Regions from separate parts of the Homo sapiens genome. Here region 2 is linked to region 1. Evidence: promoter capture Hi-C in 16 types of primary human blood cells and fetal thymus (Javierre and others, 2016). All regions are on one chromosome and are shown on one strand. The core of a region is centred on a gene start or on the middle of the fragment in contact, and the rest is flanking DNA. Distances in the headings are between cores, read along the strand shown.

Region 1 (6,641 bases), core at 3,720-6,219:
GAGTAATTTTAATTTTGTAAAAATAATCTTTAGGGTCAAACAGAAAAGTCCTTTCTTACCAAAGGAGCTGGAGGGCCAGAGAAATATGTATTAAAAAAAACAGAGCAGCTGCAAGGTCTTGGTCCTAATAAATGCAAAGTGGACATGCAGCACAATTTGTGCCTAAGAGCAGGATAGACCTAAGATCCCTCACCTGGAAACACTGGCAAGAAGGTTCTGGTACTCCAGAGGGTCAGATATCCATGCTATCCATCAGTTTTACATAAACAGATATGGCAGAGCAGGTTGATACTCAGGATTTAAAAAATGTGCTGTCTTAGGAAACACACTGGGAAAGAACTCTGGCTGGGCATATGCAACACTATTGCCTCTGAAGGTAGAGTGATGTGGTGAGCAGAATCCTGGGGCTTAGAACACAAGTCTTGGCGCTAAATAAATGCAGTGAATAATAATAACTGCATAGTGCTGCTGTGAAATTGTATGAGATAAGGCATGTCTAAAGAAATTGTAAAAACCAAATCGGAGTACACATAGTGCATTGTTTTCCACAAAAATGGGCAACAAGGTCTCTGAAAATGTATGAAATTTCATATACTTTTCAATTCCCCAAATTTGTCACCTTAATCACCACTTGGCCTGTATGTACACACTCATACACACACATATTTACTAGCAGTCAATTTCTCACAATAGCAAGACTGGGCACTGATACAAAGATACCAGAAATCAACAAAAGGAAGATTTAGCTGGCCTGGGAAGGAGGTGCCTAGGCAGTATAAAATGGGCAGCTATCGCTGGGGCTAAAATATCAGCCTGGACCCCAGAAGACTACAGCAGGAGAGAAATGAATGGATGGAGAAGGAGCCAGCCAGAGAGCTCAAGTGCCACCGTTCAGACTGGCCAGCCCTGAAGCGTCCCAATGTTCAACAGTCCCTCCACGAGACAGGCAGAGTGACCAGATGACTTCCAGGTGGCCTTCCAGCTTGAGCAGCTGTTAGTAATTAAAACTCAGTGAGATGGTTTTGAGCTCTGGAGGAACTTGGAACTAAATTATTTTGAAAATAAGGCACAATCAAGAAAAAATAAACTAACAAAGCATTTTTTTTTTAGAAAGCTCACACACTGCTCTAATCCCCAAGGAATAGCCCTGTGCTGAGATTTTCTGTGAATAAGTTGAACTATCTTAGCAAGTTCCAGGAATGTTTCTTCAGGAACTATGAAGGACATCTTAACCTTTTCTCAGGAATAGGGGAACAGGAGCTCCCAGCTGTAAAGACTGGAAATCCACGTGGAGGCCTTCAGTCCTCTCCCTTCCTTCCCCCGGGCTTCAGAACTCTGTCTCCTAATGCCAGCCCAGCCCCCCTCACCAGCCCATCCTCACATTCTTCCCTAGAACTCCTTCTCATAGACCCGTGAAAAAGCAGTCAGAGAGATAAACCAGACAGCAGGAGAGAAATGAAGGGATGGAGAGGAAGCCAGCCAGAGGGCCCAAGTGCCACCCTTCAGACTGGCCAGCCCTGAAGCATCCCAATGTTCCATAGTCCCTCCACAAGACAGGCAGAGGGACAGAAGACTTCCAGATGGCCTTCCAGCTTGAGCAGCTGTTAGTAATTAGAACTTAGTGAGATGGTACTCCAAAGGTGTACCATTAGCCTATTAGCCCTATCTCTTCTGACCCAAGAGAACAATGAGGTCACCTTTAACCCTGATTTTGTTGTTTTTATAATATGAACATAGATTATTGAGCACCTACAAAATGACAGAAACTATACAGTGCCATCTGTATAAATATTATCTCTAATCTGGGAACAGCTCTGCAGAAGGTGAGGGTGTTTAATTCAATCTGCTGGGAGGGAAAGTTTAAGGCAGAGAAACCGATTTAACCTAGAACTTCAGGCAAAGGGGCCAAAGTCATCAACATCCCTTCTTGCTGCACCATGGATCCTCTCTATATTATGGGTGAATACTATGGATCCTTTCTATATTATGGGTGAGAAAACTGAGGCTCCAAGACATTAAATAACATAACCAAAGTTTAACAGGTGACTGGTAATGCAGAAACTTAACCTAGATAGTCTCATACCAAGGCCTATACACTTTCCCTCATTCTAGGCTGCCTTTAATTTTGCTGCACCTTCTGAAAGCTAATAAAATCCACCCAAAAGGCAAGGTATAAGAAGGGCTTGGTAAGTAGCACAGCTGCCCTGGGTATACTCTTAGAAGGGAAACCAAGAGGGCTGCAAAGAAGACTCTTCTGCACTGGAACTTGGGACACTCACCTCCTCTTTCAGCCCTAACTCCAAAGGCTGTGAGGTGGGTAGGCCCCACAATGGAGATTAAAAGGCTTGTCCTCTACCACGTATTTCCTTATTATCTAATTAGAGCCTCTCATCCACCTGTCAAGCAGATATCATTAATCCCATTTGACAGATAAGGATGTTGAGGGTTAGTTAGAGCCCTTAGTGCTAAATCCATTGCTTTACAGTAGGCCAAGCTACTGCCCTACCCCTCCCCATGTCTCCTTAAGAAGGGACTTCGCTTTGTAAGCACTATTTCAATATTAATCTCTCAGGAATCCAACACTGATGACCCATGAGTCCAGGGGCCCCTCTCGGACTCAGGACACATGACCAGCTCTCCCCACTTAGGTTCAGTGTGGAAGGAGAACCAGGAGGAGATTCATTGTCAGTGTCACTATCTGGGCTAAACACACAGAATGTTTCATGCCCAGAGCAATGGAGTGAGGGCCTCTGGCGCTGCTGTCAGCCTCTGGGAATATTTAGAAAAGAATGTCCCTGGAGAGAAGCCCAGACATACCTGGGAGCCTCTGGCTCCTCATCCCAGGCACAGAGAGGGAAGGCAGACCTCAGGGGCAATGCTGTGGCTGGCAAGGACTGGAGGAGCTTGTCACTTGATTCTTAAATAGAGTCCCTTCCCTAACACTTAGTGAGGGTAGTAGCCCCAGCATGACTTCCACTCAAATTATCTGCATCCACTGTGCCCCACACCTTGCTTGTATTTAATAAAGCAGATGAACCCTTGCAAGGTGTTGGTCACTCTTCTTAAAATGGCCAAGATGAAAATGGAAAGATGAGAGAGAGCAACTTCTAACTCCCAAAAAGCCAAGTGAGCCCTCACCCCACCCTGGTCACTCAAGTCAGCCTGACCACCTAAAATCACCCCTAGGCAGAGTTCCTAGGTTTCAGGTCTCTGCTCCTCCACTTCCTGAGTAGGACCAGATAAGTGTTCTAAAGATCTGCAAAGCTGCACCTAGTTACCAGTTCCCTGTAGAGCTATTCTGGCTGCAAGCAAATGTAAGGCAAGGGAAATGCCCAAAGTGGGATTTTGATCAGTGTACTCATTTTTTCAATAATCATTGACGGACTTCTGTGCCAGACTCCACTGAGTACCAGAGATATCGTTCCAGCCTTCCAAGGATGGGGAGAAATTGAGACAAATATGCAGCCATCACAGCACATTATGATAAATTCTGGGACAAGGGGAAGCAAAAGGGCCTCAGAAGCAAAGACAACAATAGCTCAGCAAGCTTTTTAGGTTCCAAGGGCTTCCCTGAGGAGGTGACATTTAAGCCATGGCAGTGGCGGGACCTGCTGCAGGCAGGTAATGGGGCAGTGACACAGGCAGTTAATGGGGTGGGGCACAGCAGCATTCGGTTAGACAACAAAAACATATTGAGTGTCAAAAACTGGAGATGAAACAGTAGATAAATCAGACAAGATGATGGCTTTTATGGAGCTCATATAACACGAGGCCAATAATGAGAAGTAAACAAATAAAATTTCAGTTGAAGATAAGGGCACGAAAGAAAGAGTGATAGGACAGAGGAAGATGGGTGCAGGACACTCATACTGGAGACAGGGGTCAGAAAAAGCCTCTCTTAAGGATGTGACATGTGATGAGAAAACACCAGCCATTCTAAGATCCAGGGAAAGTGCATTCCAACTGTGGGAGACAGCAAGAGAAAAGCGTCCCCCAGCAAGAATGATATTGGGGGATTCATGGAACAAAAGGAAGGTCAAGGTGGCCAGAGCATCAAGAGCACAACAGAGTTTGAGAAGATGAGGCGGGAGGAAGGCAAGGACCTCATCAGGTAACAGGGTCTTGCAGGGTATGGCAAGGAGCTTTGGTTTAATTCTGAGTGACTTGGGGGAATTTCAGCAACAGAACTTATCTAGTTTGTTTTTAAAAATACATCCTGGCTAATACAAAGAGCCAGAGAGAAAGAGAACAGACCTTGTTTGGAAAGCTGAAAGTGACTTAGTGTAGCTAGGGTAAAGAGTACAAGGCAAGGGGTGTTGCCGTGTGGACACTAATCTACTTTTTAAATGGGCTGAAGACTGAATCCTGATCCTAGACACAGACCAAGCTGAGATCGGAGCCCCAGGAAGATTACTAAGTCCCAGTCTCAGCCACAGCCTGACTCCTGATGTACAGCATACAGTGAAACCAACCTCACTCAGAGCCCCACTTCCACCCCAGCTGCAGCCTCATCCCCAGTCATAGACTGAGCTTCAACCACGTTCACCCTGTTCACACACCAAACCCCGACCCAACCCCAATGCAGCCCCAGTCTAACCCCAGCCCAGCCTGTCCTCTGTCCTCTGTCCTCATTCACATCAGCCCCTGCCAGCCTCCAGATGGGCATACTAGTAAACTAATCACTGAAAAACTGCTTGAAAACTACCCTTAGGCTACCTCCAGCACCCACATGCTTTCTGTTCAGCACACAAACCTAGAGATCACTAAGGCTGCCTGTCCTTTGAGTCAGGGGCTTCCTACACATCTCCCACTTCTGGTTCTTCACAGCCTGGCTTCTCATGCACTCAGCAAGTCTAACAGGAGACCCCTAGCTGCAAGTAACCCATGCACCTGGACATGCCCCTGGCCTCCTGCACTCACCTCAACCGTATGGAAGGAATGTGTGACCCCCTTTGTCCAGTCTTCCTCCAGAAGAGGTCTGGCAGGCTGCACTGAAATACAGCCTCTCTGTCTCCGCCTACTCCCTTGGACCTCCCTGGTCAGGGTTATTTATTCTCTGCCTCACCCTCTCCCTCCTTCTGCTTCTTCCTGCAGGGTGGGGCAGAATGCTGTCCAAAGGGTACATCAGCAGGTACCCCTCACTAGCCCACTGTGGTTCTGGACTGCTTCTCAGCTTCCGTGCCCTGGGAGGATATGCCTGGGGGTATGGGGAGGAGAGGCAATGGGGAAAGGGATCTCTAGAGTCCTCCCCTGATGGGCTGCTGGGATCCTCATGCCAACTCCCAATGTGAAGGATAGATAGGGAAAGTGAGTAGAAAAAAGCTAGAAGAAACTCATTAGTGTAGTCTTCGTGACGGTCTTTATCCAAGTCTCTTCTCAGGTTTATCAAACTCAAACAGGAGAATGGCAAAGGAAGTTTGCAGAGACACTCCACGGTTAAGTGTCAGCCCATTTCCATCCTGAAGTGTTCTTTCTGTCCTCCCTTCTCTCATTTGGGGGACACTGTTTAGGTCCTTGCTAAGCGTGGAATTCACTGGGTCCATCCTCCTTTTCCCAAAGCCCTAGGGCTACATCTTTTTTTGTCTCCCAGGCTCTGGTCCCTGTGTCTGGATAACTTATAACCAAGGTCCCCAGGGACAGTGCCTCTGCCGTCCACTCTCTGGCCTTGGATTACTGAACTTCTGGCTGAGGACAGAGAACGTGGTTTCTTTAACCCTCCCCACCCCCAACACCAGCCACGTAAGACCAATGACATCTGGTTTCTCCCTTAAGGGCAAAAATAGTCAGAGAACATTTTAGAGAGTTAGAGAACAATTTGAATGTAAAACTAAATACCTCGTATTTTGAAATAAGTAAAAACTACATCTATAAATAGAACAACATGGTTTTTAGTTGGTCTCCCCTTATTTTTTACTGATCAGTTTCACAACTGTGAGTTTTAAATTCAGAACACAGGACACGCTAAATCAAGCTATGTTAAATAGATCATGGCAAATCAGACCATTCTAACTCAGACCACATCAAAATTACTGGTGACAACAGTTTCTGGTGCCTACAGAGCACGCAGCCTGACACTTGCTATCAGAACCCTGGAGCCATCTCTGCTGCCTCCATTAACCTCATTAACTTAGACATGGCAAAGACTTTAAAAAATACCAAAGGGACTTCTACTTCCATCCAATATGGAGTAACAATGAGACATGTGGAAGGACAGTGAGACATGAGACAAGGTGAATAATGAGGTGAATGCTACAGTTTTTTCAGCTTCCTGCCTTAAGGGAGTTTCCATGCGGCAACAGAAGGGAGATTGACTGGCTTCCCCTCCACCCTTGCTTTCCCAGAGGGATTAGGAGAAACTCCCTACAACCAAGGCTTTTTTTTTTTTTTTTTTTTTGACACAGAGTCTTGCTCTGTCACCAGGCTGGAGTGCAGTGGCATGATCTCGGCTCACTGCAACCTCCACCTTGCGGGCTCAAGCGTTTCTCCTGCCTCAGCCTCCCAACTAGCTGGGACTACAGGCACGCGCCATCACACCCGGCTAATTGTTGTATTTTTAGTAGAGATGGGGAACCAAGGACTTTTATACATGTTTGGCAGATAAGCCAAAAAGGGAAGGGAGAGGTGAGGATACCATGACTTGC
Region 2 (6,641 bases), core at 1-2,500, 340 kb before region 1:
ACAAAAAACAAAAAACAAAAAAAAACCACAAAAAACAAAACAAAAAAAATCTCCAAGACCTATGTAAAAGAGATCTAGAAAAACACAGAAAGAGGTAGTTAATAGCTATATGTTGAAGAAAACAAAGCATTGATAATAAGTTGACACGCACACGTCTATAGATGTACATGTTTATGTATATGTATAGATACATATACATATATATCTCACAGCAAAATATTTCAGCTATTACCTTAGAAATCACACGACTCGGCTGGGTGCAGTGGCTCACACCTGTAATCCCAGCACTTTGGGAGGCTGAGGAGGATGGATCACCTGAGGTCAGGAGTTTGAGACCAGCCTGACCAACGTGGTGAAACTCCATGTCTACTAAAAATACAAAAAAGTAGCCGAGCATGTGGCACGTGCACTCCAGCCTGGGCAACAAGAGCGAAACTCCATCTAAGAAAGAAAGAAAGAGAGAGAGAGAGAGGGAGAGAGAGAGAGAGAGAGAGAGAGAGGGAGAGAGAGAGAGAGAGAGAGAGAGAAAGGAAGGAAGGAAGGAAGTCACAGAACTCTGGAAATGAGTCCTAACTCTGCTACTTAAAAGCTGTTCAACTAGGCCAGGCGCAGTGGCTCACTCCTGTAATCCCTGCACTTTGGGAGGCTGAGGTGGGCGGATCACCTGAGGTCAGGAGTTCAAGACCAGCCCGGCCAACATAGTGAAACCCCGTCTCTACTAAAAATACAAAAAAATTAGCCCAGCATGGTGACAGGCCCCTGTAATCCCAGCTACTTGGGAGGCTGAGGCAGGAGAATCACTTGAACCCAGAAGGCGGAGGTTGCAGTGAGCCGAGATCATGCCACTGCACTCCAGCCTGGGAAACAGAGTGAGATTCTGTCTCAAAAAAAAAAAAAAAAAAAAAAAAAAAAAAAAAAAAATCGACTGGGCATGGTGGTGCTCACTTGTCCCAGCTACTCAGGAGGCTGAGGTGGGAGGATCATTTGAGCCTGGGAGGTCTTGGCTGTAGTGATCCATGATCATGCCACTGCATTCTAGCCTTGACAACAGAGTGAGATCCTATCTCCAAGAAAAAATAAAAAAATAAAAATAAAAGAATTAAAATGGAAGATAATGAAAGAATTTGTTAAAAATACACAATTATTGAGGGCTTATTATAAGGCAATTCTGTGTTTTAAACCTTTGGTATAGATTAAAATATAGTATAAAAATTTTATAGGTTAAAAAAAATGAGACTCAAAGAGGTGAAAGAACATGCCAAAGTCACACTATTAATGAATAGAGAAAATTCGCTTCAAATCTATTAACGAAATACTTCATCAACAGGATTAAACAACATGATATATATGTGGAGGGAGGTCAACAGATAGATGAGAGATAGATAGATGGTTACTACTCAACAGCAGCAGGCAACAGAATAGACAACATTAAAAACATGTTGAATTAAAGACATGGGAAACCAAATGGTAATCCTATTTGAGGCTCAAGAACAAGGAAAGCTAATTTTGCAGAAAGCAATGAGTATAGTGGTTGCCTCTGTCATGGAGGGGATTGTTGGTAAAGGAGCACAATAGAAATTTATCCAGGAATGAAATGTCTATTTCTTGACTGATATCTGGGTAATACAAATATATTCACTTTTTGAAACTCACTAAGCTGTACACTTAAGATTCATATATCATACCATTAAACCTCTACAAAAATAAATACAATTTCAATGAATTAAGAAAATAAAAATATAGATTAATAAGGTACCAAAAGCGGCACCCATTTCACCATGAGGAATATAGAACTGTAATATAAATGGTAATGTATGTGGTCAAATGAGCATATAAATAATCATTTTGTGGATGATATTGTAATGCGAGTGCTATATCCCAGTTAATGTTCTAAAAGAAGAACGTTATGTGCTAAAGACATGGGTAAATAATGGAATGTCAACCAGAGGAATTAATAAAATAAGATATATGTGATATACTTGGAAAAGAGAATATGGTTAATCTGAAAAAGGCAAGATGGATTTAAGACTGCCTATGGAAACAATGATGTTTGTTGTTAGACAAATATGGTATAGAGATTGTTATTCCTGATAACCTCTATCAACTTTGTAAATTATGAGTTTGTTCACTAAAATCTCATGGTGATATAGACCTTATTATATTCTCATTTCAAAGATTAATAAACTAGGGTTTGGGGAATATAAAACTCTTTCCATGGAAATGATAAAATATTGATATTTACATCTATATCTGACTAAGTTTTAAGTCAGATTATGTATTAAATGAGGCATGCTGCTTATCACTGCTGGCAGATCTCCATCAATAATATCATCGACATATCTTTGATGTTTCTATGGCCTGAATACATTCAAAAACCTAAGCTCAGTGGAATCACAATGAAAGAAACAAGGTGAAAATGACTAAAACTTATTCAAAATCTATAGTAGTTTTGAAAGAAGCAAAAATAAAAAAAAATCCTCTAAGTCTCTCACACTTTCTCCGGTGTTCTGAACATAGACTTCTCTAGGATGGTTAAAAATCAGGTTAAATCTCTCTATCCCATTGAAAGAAGGTGACCAGAGAACCCCCATAGAGCATGGTTCCTCAATCACTCTGATGTATTCTTGAAATTCTGTTGCAGAAATGTTAATAAATGAAACCCTCCTGAAATTTCAAAATATTCTGTTGTACACAATAACTATACACAATTTATATTTGTCAATTGACAAATTTACTAACAAATTGAAAAAAATGAAATATAAAGAAGCCCTCATATTTTCCAGGCCCATAAATGACACTGTAGGCTCATTAATGACAGCGACGTCAAGTTGCATTAATATCTGTAGCACAGACTTTGGAACTTGGAAGGAACCCATTATTCATTAAATTAATAAAAGTGTTCAGTAAAAAAAATCTCATAGCTGGTAATGAAATCAGAAGTGAGTGAATACTTAACAAACTATTGATACATACGAGCATATAATTCAGATCGCTCAACACAGGACAAGTGATCATTATAACAACTTATTGAGCGCATACGCTGTGCCAAGAATGCACTTTCTTCATCAACACAACTACCTGTGAAGTAGGTGTTTTATAGTATTCATCTTATAGTTAAGGAAATGAGGCTTTGAGGTCATTTAATTGTCATTTTGGGGGGTCACAATGCTCAAAGTTATGTATAGAAGTTATAAATAAAGAGTATTTTATTCTGAAGGCAGAATCTTTGATCACTGGCCTGGATTGCCACTTTTGATGAGACTGCCCCGTCTTTCATCTTGACACGCACCTCTCTAATGCTGCTCCTGGAACTCCCAGTATGCCCCATGCAATCCGATAGGGCCGGCACAGATGAGCAGCCATCTGTAAGCCTGACCCAGCACTCAAATACATGAGTGCTGACTGCTGAGAGCCAGCTTAACTAAGAAAGCAAATGAGTGACTTATTAACGATTCAGCTGCTGATAAGGGAAGTAATGTGTTGAAAGCACAACAGTGTTTCTCAAAATGTAATATGCATAGAATCGCCTGTGGATATTAATAAAAATGCAGATTCTAATTCAACAGGTCTTGAATAAGCCTAATATTCTAAATTTCTAACAAGATCCTAGGTGATGCCAATGCTGCTGATCCAAAATCAAACTTTTTAAGTAGTTATGAGGCAGAAGATATTGGCAATGTAAGGAACAAAAGACCTGTGAATTTAACCAGAAAGTTTTAATAATGGATACCAGATTTTATATATTATTTTTAAAATCAGAACTATGGAAACAGGCCCCTATCTCTCCTCTCACCCCCATCTATGCTTTCATCTTTCTCATTATGGCTATAGTATTTGATCTGCTGGGTATAAACATCTGGCCTGTGCCTAGGACCTCTCCTAGCAGATTTTGAATTGTTTCCCATCTCCTTCTGGAAGAAATGAGAAAACGTAATTTTGAAGATATCAGACTGCACGGCCACTTTTTCTGTTACTCAGGTAAAGAGTGGGTGCAGGGAGAGTTTGTGGGGCATTGGAAAATTGATGCCATTGTCATGACACTGGCAGCTCTTCTGGAGAAGATTCAATATCTAATTCATTTTGACAGAGAACAAATGCTTTCACCGCAATACCATAGTTTGAGCTAATGCTAAGAGAAGGATTACCAATAGAGAGCATAGAGGGTAATGAGATAAGAACCATGGGGCTGGGCAGGCTGCAAGGAGCCATCGATGCCCCAGTACAGCACAGAACCACACAGTCATTTAGTGATCATCATAGAAAGTGTATATTTTCTCTCCTGAAACTATTTTGCATTTGCAATTTATTTATTCAACTGAGAGAATGGCATATTACTGGTGTGCAAAGGCTATTAAGACACAAAGCCTGCTTTAAGTTAGTTTACCGTCTCATAGAATGGTCTATTAAATAAACATAGAATTGTGAGACAGTAATAAGCCTCAGAATAAAAACCTATACAAGCTTTGCTAGTGGCTAATTGGAGTGAGATCTTAACCCACATGGATTTCTATGAGGAGGTAAATAGAGGAGGTGATGTAACCTGGACCTTACACATTTCAACAATGTTGTAGGAACGCTGGGAAAAAGCCTAGAACCTCAGGTCATTTCTTTTGATTAGAGTATAGGTTTTGCCTGAGCAAACCTCTTTCATACAGATAAGAACAGAGAGTGAAGTAAGAAATGGATCCCGTAGGGATTTAAAAGTCATGTAAATATTTTATACCCTTTACCTCTTGTAAATATGTATTTATACTGGTGTTTATTCAGATAAGTATACTACTTATCAAAATAGTAATTATAAGAGTAACCAACTTTTACTGATTGTTAAGTGCTATTTGTATGAATTATGTCATTTAATTACATGAACAACTTTTATTTTACAAATTAGGGAATTAAGACTCAGGGAGTTGAGTAATTTGTCGAAATTTAGAGACTTTACAATTGCCAGAGCCTGCAATTTTTAACTTTCATACAGGCAGACGTAAACATGTATAGTCATGTGCCACATAACAGTGTTATTCAATAATGGACCACATTAGCATGGTGCTCCCATAAGATTGTAATGAAGCTGGAAATTCCTATCATGTAGTGACATTGTAGCTGTCGTAACGTCATAACACATTGCATTTCTGATAATGCTGATATAAAGAAACTGACTTCACCACCAATCCTACAGAAGTATAGCACATACAATTATATACAGTATATAATTCCTGATAAAGATAATAAACAACTGTTATTGGTGTATGTATTTACTACACTAAAATTTTATCATTCAGAGTGTACTCAATATATATGTATATGTTTATATGTGTATGTATATTGTATATATGTATGTATGTATATTGTGTGTATATATATATATACATACATACATATATATGTAAAGTTAACTGCAAAACAACTTCAGGCAGGTCAGTCAGGAGGTATTTCAGAAGAAGGAATTGTTGTTATAGGAGATGACAACTCCATGCACCCTGAAGACCTTCCAGTGGGACAAGATATGGAGGTGTAAGACAATGATATTGATGATCCTGAGCCTGTGTAGGCCTAGGCAATGTAGTGTTTATGTATTAGTTTCTAACAAAAAGTTTAAAAAAGAAAAAAAAGAAAAAAACTTAAAAGTATAAAAAGCTTATAGAATAAGGATATAAAGAAAAAATTTTTTACAGTTATACAATGTGGTTGTGTTTAAGCTAAGTGCTGTTACAAAAGATTCAAAAGTTTAAAAAATTGAAGTTTGTAAATAAAAAAGTTATAAGAAGATAGGTTAATTTATTATTAAATAAGAAAGTTTTAAGCTAAATTTAGGGTAGCCTAAGTGTACAGTAGTGTACATTCACTCACCAATCACTCCCTGACTCACCCAGAGCAACCTCTAGGCCCACATGCTCCTTTTATAGTAAGTGCCCTACCAAAGTGTAGCATTTTTAATCTTTTATGTTGTGTTTTTACCATACATTATTTATGTTTGGATATACAGATATTTACTATTGTGTTACAATTGTCTATAGTATTTAGTACAATAGCATGCTGCATGGGTTTGTAACCTAGGAACAATAGGCTATAGCATATACTTTAGCTATGCCATCTCGGTTTGTGTAAATACACTCTACGATGTTCTCATGACAATGCATTTCTCAGAATGAGTATCTCTATCATTAAGCGTTGTATGACATACACACAGGTATGCACACAAACACACCTATATGTTTTATAAAAATTATACATGCTTATATTTTTAAAAATCAAACAGTACAAAAATGTGAGAAAAGAAACAACAGTTCCTTGACTCTCCTTTGCCATCTTCAGTACACTCTCTAAAGGAAGCAATTTTGAGTTGTTTAAATTTCTTCTTTTATAAGTTTTTCCAGTAATAACATTCAGCTACTTAACTAATATGTTTATATTGTTATTTATTGATTTGCAGTTTTAGATAATATCTATTGTCATATAAATAAGAATTCACCTTAACTGAAAGCCCCTTAAGTCCTGTCCTTCTTAATATGTTTATGTTATGATTTTATTTTCTTCATTGTGTATGCTAAGCTTCTAAACAATATTATCATTGTACTTCTCATTAAAACAGATACAAATAATATTTCTTCACCCTTCACTTAGGAAAATGAGGATATTAATGT

The links. Contacts are between HindIII fragments. The CHiCAGO score rates a contact against its expected background, and 5 or more counts as called.
Region 2: a fragment that was not itself captured here is called in contact with the fragment with the promoter of OR51E1 in region 1 in 3 of 17 cell types (naive B cells, erythroblasts and megakaryocytes); the score reaches 5.8 in naive B cells.

What each region holds. Positions count from the first base shown.
Region 1 is chr11:4,642,310-4,648,950 of GRCh38, reverse strand. OR51E1 (olfactory receptor family 51 subfamily E member 1) reads right to left here and starts at 4,969. Exons shown (of 2, transcript NM_152430.4): 1 at 4,921-4,969. OR51D1 (olfactory receptor family 51 subfamily D member 1) reads right to left here. Exons shown (of 2, transcript NM_001004751.3): 2 at 5,891-6,641. The HindIII fragment of the contact is 7,717 bases long and covers 3,550-6,641 here.
Region 2 is chr11:4,980,792-4,987,432 of GRCh38, reverse strand. The region is part of intron 2 of MMP26 (matrix metallopeptidase 26); the gene reads right to left. Among named protein-coding and RNA genes, the nearest start is that of OR51L1, 11 kb to the left of the region's middle. The HindIII fragment of the contact is 6,427 bases long and covers 1-4,463 here.